Regions from separate parts of the Homo sapiens genome. Here regions 2 and 3 are each linked to region 1. Evidence: promoter capture Hi-C in 16 types of primary human blood cells and fetal thymus (Javierre and others, 2016). All regions are on one chromosome and are shown on one strand. Each heading gives the region's core, a stretch centred on a gene start or on the middle of the fragment in contact. The rest is flanking DNA. Distances are from core to core; before and after follow the strand shown. Region 1 holds the start of DHX36 (DEAH-box helicase 36). Region 2 overlaps PLCH1 (phospholipase C eta 1). Region 3 overlaps PLCH1 (phospholipase C eta 1).

Region 1 (3,224 bases), core at 191-2,690:
TCATTATCTGTCTTTACACATTGTTCCTTTCACCTGCCATACTTTTCTTCTGCCCATTAGTCTGGCAAAAGTCTACTTATCTCAAAAGTTGTTGCATAACTCACCTAACTCCAAAATTAAATTCTTTTGCTGTAGTATCTCTTGGCTCTTAGGGAGGAAATACTTTTTGTCTACTTTCTTAGATTCAGTGTTTGCAGGCCCCAGACTTAAAGTGACAAAACAGATTAGCAAAAGAAAAGACAGACTTAACCACATACATAATAGAGTTCACAGAAAAAGGTGATTCAGGGAGGTAGAGTTCTGACTTATCTACCATCTTATAAAGGGAAGGAAAGGGGAAAACAGCACGTATGGAAAAAACAAATGACTTTTAGTAAAAATAAATGACACCTTAAAACAGATGCCAGATATGATAGCTTTGTGACAATGTCTATTCAAGTGTGTTGCCAGCTTCTAACCTCCAGTGATAAGAGTCAGTCTTCCTGGGTTTCCCTCCCAGGGAGGAGCTTGATTTGAATTCCTCCGTGTGGTTCTGCATTTAGACAGGTAGATTTCAGAAACTCAAATGTCTTTGCTCAAAATAATTTTTAGGCCACAATGGTGTATTGTAGACCCCTTCCTGGCATACAGCATTTCCCTTTCTTAATTCACTGCACAAAGATAGCCTTTGTCTTTCCCTTAAGACTGTAGGCAAATAAAAGCTCATGCCATACTTGCTTTGTTCAGTGAGTATTCCCAGCACCTTTACATCAGTTAACTGTAACATGAGCTGGATATCTCCTGGTGTACATCCAAGCCTGTGTGGCCCAATTACTTGATTATTCAAGAACAGCTTGTACAAAACACTCAGTGTGCTGGTTAATAAACAGTATGTGGCTTCATATGAACACATGAATCTTCAAAGTAGTTTATTTACATTGCCTAAGAGCTCTGCACCGAATTTGGGTAGACACGCTCATCTTAACACTATTGGATAAACGTACTAAATAGTGACAACACTTTCAAGGAGGTAAGGGGATTTTAAATTACATATTTGAATAGTTGTCAGGCTGTTTTCAAGACTAGAAGAACTCATTTTTTAGAGACTTTTCTTTAGAAGACGGCGAATTGATCCAAGGGTTCTTTTGTTTCAATCAACGTTTACTACCCTAGGACCTAAGTGCAAAAAAACTGCGGATTTACCAGGAATAAGAAAGTAAAAACCAAAAGCTATTGGCTCACTTGCTGGGCCTAGGGAAAGAAAATCTACGAGCCTTTGGCTGGCTGTTGCTCCAGAGGTACAAAGATAAACAACTCGGGGGCTCAGACAGAACCTGATCCCTGCCACCCTCCAGACCACCGGGGTCGTCCTCCCGTGACGTCACCAGAAACCACTGCTTGTGACGCTAAATGGCCCGCCCTCTTGTGCGGTGCTACGGAAGCAAAACGGAAGTGGGCGCACAGTGGCTTCCGGGCCCGGACGCCATTTCCAGCGGTTGCTGGTTCTGACGGGTTGTAGTCTGCCAGGACAATGAGTTATGACTACCATCAGAACTGGGGCCGTGATGGGGGTCCCCGCAGCTCCGGTGGGGGCTATGGAGGGGGGCCAGCAGGGGGTCATGGAGGTAACCGAGGCTCCGGAGGAGGCGGCGGCGGCGGAGGGGGTGGTCGAGGCGGCAGGGGCCGGCATCCCGGGCACCTGAAAGGCCGCGAAATCGGCATGTGGTACGCGAAAAAACAGGGGCAGAAGAACAAGGAAGCGGAGAGGCAAGAGGTAATCTCGGATTCAGTAGTGGAGAGGATGAGGCAGCACAGGTTTTCTTCTCTCTCCCGCTGCCCCCTTTTTCTTGGTTTTGTTTCTTAAGTGATGCACGTGTTTTGTGAAATGTAAATGAGGCGCAAATATATTATGCTGGCGCTCCCCGTAGCGGGTGTACTGCGTAACATTAGCCATGCTCATCTGACCAAAAACAGGCAGGATTTATGCAGGCTGAATATATACTTTGCTTAAAGGACTTGAGAACTGTGACAAAGCAAATGTTAAGTTCACGTTCCAACCGAAATTAACTTTATTAGGAGTGTCGTTGTCGTATCTCTGGCCGTCCTTTCCCTTAGAATAATAATTGTCACTTTAAGGTCTTTGCCTGGTGAAGAAGCACATAGCGACCTTTCTACATTTGAGATAGGTTTGCGCGGAACAAAAGCAGGCAGACACTGTTTTGGATGTGGATCATTCAGAAAAATAGTCCAGCTTTTATTATTAGTGTTAAAATTATCTGCAAACCTAGGTTTTTGTTTTTTATGTTGGGGTGGAGAAATTTCTATTGATGAGCAGATTCTCTTTGAAAAGGAAAATGAAAGGAATCTCCAGAGATGATTTGGCTTACTCTCCTCTCTTCAGGTGATTGTCAGGTTGATTTGTGTCTTAAAGATCTGTAGTAAGGGAAACAAAGTTCTCCGAGTGACTAGTAAATAAAATTCTAATAAAAAATAATTTTTATCATTAAGCAGGAACTTTCTTAGTATAGGCCTTTGGTGACTTTTTAAAAGCACCTTATAAAATGTATTATAGAGTGTAATTAGATCATCATTTAGGCAACTTTTTTTTTTTTTAAGACAGGGTCTCACTCTGTCGCCCAGGCTGGAGTGCAGTGGCACGATCTTAGCTCACTGCAACCTCCGCCTCCCAAGTTCAAGCGATTCTCCTGCTTCAGCCTCCCGAGTAGCTGGGATTACAGGCGTCCGCCACCACCTCCGGCTAATTTTTGTATTTTTAGTAGAGACGGGGTTTCACCATGTTGGCCAGGTTGGTCTCGAACTCCTGACCTCAGGTGATCCACCCAACTCGGCCTCCCAAAGTGCTGGGATTACAGGCGTGAGCCACCACGCCAGGCCTAGACTACTATTTTTAAACCGTTCCATTTCTTTTTATTTCTTTTAACCATGTCATGTTCATTCAGGTGTTTTGGGGGCCTTATCCATTTATCTTCATAATTTAAACTTTTCTTTAAAAAACAAATCCATTTCTTTTACAGCCCCAAATTAACTTTTTCGTTGGGCATACTGGCTTGAAAATCAGGATACGGACGTCTAAGTAACTTTACAACTTTTATTTATTAAGGCTCTGTTTGAAACAAGGTTTTATGCATATTGCTCCAGGGACTTGAAGAAATGTGGTATTCAAAGAGCTTACAGTCTAGCTGAGAAAATAATACCTAAACAGATGAAAAGTTAAATAAGTCAGG
Region 2 (3,224 bases), core at 508-3,007, 1.4 Mb before region 1:
TGAGGCAGGAGAATCGCTTGAGCCCAGGAGGGGGAGGTTGCAGTGAGCCGAGATTGTGCCACTGCACTCCAGCCTGGACAAAAGAATGAGACTCCATCTCAAAAAAAAAAAAAAGGATTTCGTACATTGGAAGTGTTGCTGGTACTGAGCAGAACCCATTTTTTTTTCCTTTTTTGGTGAAATCTATTTTTTATCTCAGACTACAGAGAATTTCTGCCAATGAAATTAAAAGGCAAATGAGCATGTCTGTAAAACCAAAAACAGAATAAAAAACCTCCCCTAAACACAAGATACGAGCTTAAGATAAGAAACTATGAGGACTAACCAAGCTCATTTTATTTTTTTATTTTTATTTTTCCAAGCTCATTTAAAAAATAACCAAATACAACTTGAAAAAATAAAAATGTAATAATTAAAAATAAGAGAGTGAATGAATTTATGAATAGGTAAATCCAAGCTGCATAGAAAATTAATCAAAAGAATTTGAGCCGGGCGCAGTGGCTCACGCCTGTATTCCCAGCACTTTGAGAGGCTGAGGCAGGTGGCTTACAGTGTCAGGAGTTCGAGACCATCCTGGCCAACGTGGTGAAACCGTGTCTCTACTAAAAATACAAAAAAAAAAAAAAAGAAAAAAGAAAAAAAATTAGCCGGGTGGGATGGCGCGTGCCTGTAATCCCAGCTACTCAGGAGGCTGAGGCAGGAGAATCACTTGAACCTGGGAGGCAGAGGTTGCAGTGAGCCAAGATCACACCACTGCACTCCAGCCTGGGCAACAGGGTGAAGACCCCGTCTCAAAAAAAAAAAAAAAGAATCTGAACAAAATTTTAATTATTGCTACAGAAAAAGAAGAGAGGAAAGAAAATTGGAAAAGGCAACATTTAAAGAGATAATGGCTGAGAATTTTCAAGGATCAATAAAAAGCATCACTTGACATATTGATGAAGTCATATGAATTCCAGACAGAGTAAGTAAAAAGAAATCCACACATAGACAAAATATAATTAAACTGCAGAACACAAAAGATAAAGAGAGGATCTTAAGCTTAGCTTCAAAGACATGACAAATTATCCTGACAATGTAACAATAGAAGCCAGAAGACAATAGAATATTATCTTTCATGTACTGTGGGAAATTAACTGTCACCCTAGGATTCTATTTTCATTAAAAAACAATCTTTAAAAAACAGGGACACAATAAAGGCCTTTCAGATGCACAAAAACCTAAAGAATTTGTTCCAGCAGATCTTCACTAAAAGAGTAACACTTGAGGTAGAAGAAAATTATTTCCAGATAAAGGATCTTAAAAACAAGAAATAATGAAGACCAAAGAAAGTTTAAGTTAAAACACGTATTGACTATATAAGGTAATAATGATATATTCAGTGGGAACTAGTAACATAAGTTGGAGAAGCAAAAGGAGTTAATGTGCTCTAAAATTCTTGTATAGTTTGGGAAGAGATTAGAGATAATGATTATTGAGACTTCGATAAGCAAAGTATGCATGTTAAAATGTCTAGGGCAACTACTAAAAATTAGGAAAATAATGGATAACTTCCTAGCTAATGGAGAAAAATTAAATGAGAAAAATAACCTCAAGGAAATCAAGGGAGCTGAGAAAAAAGTAGAGAATAGGCAAGACAAATAGCAAGCACAAAATATGATGTTGAAATAAATTCCATTGTATCACTAATCATAATCTAAAGGAACCAAAGATTGTTAGAGTGGATGAAGAATTCAGCTATATGCTACTTATAACAGAAATGTCCAGGCTGGGAGTGATGTCTCATGCCTGTAATCCCTGTACTTTGGGAGGCTGAGGCGGGCAGATCACCTGAGGTCAGGAGTTCAAGACCAGCCCGGCCAACGTGGTGAAACCCCGTCTCTACTAAAAATACAAAAATTAGCCGGGCATGCATCTGTAATCCCAGCTACTCTGGAGGATGAGGTAGGAGAATTGCTTGAACGTGGGAGGTGGAGGTTGCAGTGAGCTGAGATCGCACTATCGTACTCCAGCCTGGGGGACAGAGTGAGACTCTGTCTCAAAAAAAAAAAAAAGTGTCTAAAATATAAGGATACAGAATGTTTAAAAGTAAAATAATAGAAAGGGAAATAGGTGACTAAAAACCAAAAGAAGCTGGCAATTTTGACATAAGACAAAATAGGCTTTAAATTGCAAAAAGCATTTTTAGAGATAAAGAGGGTCAATTGGTTAAAAAGTCTCAACTTATCAGAAAGATAAAATACTTACATATGCATCTTCAGGTAGCCTATAAAGAAAAGCCTATCAGATTAACAGTAGATTTCTCAGCAGAAACCCTATAAACTAGAAGGGATTGGGGTCAAAGCCTATCAGATTAACAGCAGATTTGTCAGCAGAAACCCTATAAGCTAGAAGGGATTGGGGTCCTATCTTTAGCCTCCTTAAACAAAACAATTATCAGGCAAGAATTTTGTATCCAGCAAAACTAAGCTTCATAAATGAAGGAAAGATACAGTCTTTTTCAGACAAACAAATGCTGAGAAAATTCACAACTACTAAGCCTGCACAGTAAGAACTGCTAAAAGGAGCTCTAAATTTTGAAACAAATCCTTGAAATACAGCAAAACAGAACCTTCTTAAAGCATAAATCTCACAGGACATATATAACAATTACACACACACACACACACACACACACACACACACACACACAAAACCCCCCAAGGTATTCAGGCAACAAATACCATGATGAATAGAATAGTACCTCACATCTCAATACTAACATTGAATGTAAATGGCCTAAATGCTCCACTTAAAATATACAGAATGGCAGAATGATAAGAATTCACAAACTAACTATCCCCTGCCTTCAAGAGACTCACCTAACACAGAACGACTCACATAAACTTAAGGTAAAGGGGTGAAAAAAGATATTCTATGCAAATGGACACCAAAAGCAAGCAAGAGTAGCTACTGTTATATCAGATAAAACAAACTTTAAAGCAACAGCAGTTAAAAAAGACAAAGAGGGACATTATACAATGATAAAAGAATTAGTCCAACAGGAAAATGTCACAATTCTAAATATATATGCACCTGACACTGGAGCTCCCAAATTTATAAAACAATTACTACTAGACCTAAGAAATAAGGTAGATGGCAACACAATAATAATGGAGGACTGTAATACTCCACTGACAGCACCTAGACAGGTCATTAAGACAGAAAGTCAACAACAAAAAGAT
Region 3 (3,224 bases), core at 496-2,995, 1.2 Mb before region 1:
TGAATTGTCAGACAGGAGCTAGCATGGTAATTAAGGCAACATTGTCCTTTTAACAATAAAACTTCAAATTTCCTGTGCCTTAAAACAACTGAAGTTTATTTCTTGATTATGTCAAGTTCAAAATAGGTGTTCCTAGTGGGTGAATCTCTCAAGCAGTTTTGTCTTTTTCCATCTTGTGGCTGTGCCATCTTCACCACTTCTAAAGTCACAGCAGAAGAGGAAAGAAGACGAATGATTATGTAAGGCAGCAGGTTTCTGTCAACCATACCTGGAAGTGGTGCACATACTTTCTGCCCACATTTCACTGGCCACATCCTCCTGCAAAGGAAGGCTAGGAAATAGAGTCCAGCTGTGTTCCCTCGATAAAAGAAGAAACAGGGTTAGTGAATGATTAGCCAGGCTCTAGCACAAGAGACAGGGGCGTTGGAGGTAAGCACGCAAGAGCTATTGTATGAGGTAAGATATTTATTAATCCATTTAGCATATATTTACAGACTACTTACTTCTCTGTGTTGGATGCTGTGCTATGCACCAAGTAGGCTTTTGAGCAAAGGAGCAATGAGGTGAAAGTAGTGTTTTGAGGAATTAGCCTGGGGGCAAAATATAAAAACAAGAGAAAGCAAATTCTTAGTCAGAGGGGCATGGTGAAAAACCTACTGTCTTTCTCCAGCTGAGAGCTAATGAGATTGTGTGGGTAGAGAGCAATATTAATAGTATCAATAACAATCATAGTTACTATATGCCATGCAGTGTTACAAGCTACTTTACATATATTTAACTGTCACTCAAATTTATGATGTAAGTGCTATTACTCTCCTTTTCTAGATGGGGAAAACAAGTCTTCAAATGATTAAGTTATTTGCCCAAATTCACATAAATCTTGGCAGCGCTCGAGGATTTGAACTTAGGAAGTTGATGTTATTTTATAACTACTGTAGTATTAATGAAATGAAAATCAATCTAATGAAAACATTGTGAGCCTAAGTGAACAATAATGAAAACTATATTATTGATTTGGGAAGGACACTGTGACTTTCTAAAAGACCTTCATAACCTGAAGAAGAAGAAGAAGAAGAAGTGAAATTGGGTAAATGACCTTTCAAGAAATCTCCCTATCCTTGGGCACACTTGACTGGATTTAGATAAGTTCTAATGAGTTTTTGGTGAATTCTGAGCTGTTTAAGAATATGACATCTTTTTAACCACACTCAAAACCAAATCATTGTGTCTTGAGGAAAAGCAATTCTTTAATTCCTTGTTCTGATAAATATGCCAGAACACCGATTTCTGTGTCTGTGTCACGTCTTTGTCAGGATTGAAATGGGTATAATTTCAGATAATGGACTTAATATGTGTCTGGTATTTCCAGAAATATTAATAAACACCAGAGACTTTGGGTTGTTGATATAAAGTTCTGTTTTTGGCAGTTGACTGTTGGGATGGCCCAGATGGAGAGCCAGTAGTACATCATGGTTACACTCTCACTTCAAAAATTCTCTTCAGAGATGTTGTGGAGACCATCAACAAGCATGCCTTTGTGAAGAATGAGTAAGTAAAGCAGCACCTGTGAGCTAAGCGGTAGCCTCCCGCATGGAGCATTGCCTGATGTAACGTAGCTACAAAACCACATCCTCTTCCTTGGACTCTACACTGCCCTCTTTGCTAGACTAGTTTTCTCCCTCCTTCTCAGCAAAACATTGTGAACAAATAATGTGGCCTTCCCGTTTGTACTTTCTCATGCTGCATTTATTCCTTGTCCCATTCTTTCTCAATATGCCTCCTTAAAGACATTCTTGCAAATAGTGACCTCTAAATTTCTAAATCCAGGGTGTAGAGTGTCCATAAAATCTGGAAACATAGGTTACTGTGTACATAATTAGTGGGTTCTGATCATGATGGATGTCTTATCTATACACTGAGGTGTCTGGAGTCCTTATGTTACTTGACCCTCTCCTTGTCATTTGACAGTGTTGAATATTTCCTCCCCACTACTTGCCTTTTTTGGTTTCCATTATATCATTCTCCCCTCCATTGCTCTCGTTGCTTCTCAATCTCTTTTTTTTGTACTGCAGTCTTCTGTTAATCTATTTCCTCATTCCTCTAATGGTTAACTGTTTTCTAAGGTTTTGCCCTAGATCACTTTCTGGATATTTATCAAATTCTATGTCCAGAACTTTCCCCTCAAGTTCTAGGCCCATGTTGAAACATACTCAGTGAGGCCGGGCACGGTGGCTCCTGTAGCACTTTGGGAGGCTGAGGAGGGTGGATCACGTGAGGCCAGGAGTTTGAGACCAGCCTGGTCAACATGGCGAAGCCCTGTCTCTACTAAAAAAATACAAGTATTAGGTGGATGTAGTGGTACACATCTGTAATCCCAGCTACTTGGGAGGCTGAGGCATGAGATTTGCTTGAACCCAGAAGGTGGAGGTTGTAGTGAGCTGAGATTGCACCACTGCACTCCAGCCTGGGTGACAGAGTGAGACTCCATCTCAGAAAAATAAAAATAAAAATAAAAATCCTCAGTGAATATTCATCTGAGTATCCCATAGGTGTGGGGAGCCACAACAGTGAGCAGAAGATAAGACTCCTGCCATTAAGGAGCTTACTCCCCAAGGGGAACTCAGCATCTCATTCTGCCAAACTTCCTCTTGATTCTCGCTCCATTTCCTCTTATTAATAGTTAGGGGCAGCACTGGCCTCAGCCAGAAACTGGGAGTCATTCTAGACTCAACCAATTCTTGGCAATTCTACTTCCCAAGTTATCTTTTGACTCCATTGCCTCCTGTTCATTTTTATTTCCCCTTTGGTTCATCCTCAACACTGGTGCTATAATTTTCTTTCTGAAATATGAGCATGGTGATTCAATTCTTGTCTTAAAGCCTGTCAGAAGCTCTCTCAATACACAGGCATGTCTTCATATCCCTTAAGGTCTGGCATCTCCCTTGTCTTCCACTATCATCTTCCACCATTATTCCACAGAGATTTAGGATTCTGCCTTCAATGACTGTCTTTCAGCTTCCCTATTGAGCCTGGCTCTTTCTCAACTCCCCACTCTTACGTATGCTGTTCTCTCTGCCTGGAACAACCTTCCCCGTTAGTCTATCTGATTAATTGTTGCTTATTCTACAAGGCCGTTTAAGTATTGTCCCTCCAACAAGTTACTAATACCACCAGCTGATTTAAATCTTCTTTTTCTCCATATTTTCTCTGTATTTAGCACCCTG

Evidence for each region. The method cuts DNA at HindIII sites, captures the fragments that hold promoters and counts their contacts. A CHiCAGO score of 5 or more calls a contact.
Region 2: a contact is called between a fragment that was not itself captured here and the fragment with the promoter of DHX36 in region 1, in 1 of 17 cell types (naive CD4 T cells). The highest score is 5.3, in naive CD4 T cells.
Region 3: a fragment that was not itself captured here is called in contact with the fragment with the promoter of DHX36 in region 1 in 1 of 17 cell types (fetal thymus); the score reaches 5.1 in fetal thymus.

Annotation. Positions count from the first base shown.
Region 1 is chr3:154,322,703-154,325,926 of GRCh38, reverse strand. DHX36 (DEAH-box helicase 36) reads left to right here and starts at 1,440. Exons shown (of 25, transcript NM_020865.3): 1 at 1,440-1,753. The coding sequence starts at 1,511. RefSeq lists an enhancer at 1,253-1,547. The HindIII fragment of the contact is 15,842 bases long and covers 1-3,224 here.
Region 2 is chr3:155,724,282-155,727,505 of GRCh38, reverse strand. All of the region lies in intron 1 of PLCH1 (phospholipase C eta 1), which reads left to right. Among named protein-coding and RNA genes, the nearest start is that of PLCH1, 19 kb to the left of the region's middle. The HindIII fragment of the contact is 1,428 bases long and covers 1,044-2,471 here.
Region 3 is chr3:155,552,400-155,555,623 of GRCh38, reverse strand. PLCH1 (phospholipase C eta 1) reads left to right here. Exons shown (of 23, transcript NM_014996.4): 9 at 1,428-1,548. Among named protein-coding and RNA genes, the nearest start is that of PLCH1-AS2, 68 kb to the right of the region's middle. The HindIII fragment of the contact is 8,542 bases long and covers 1-3,224 here.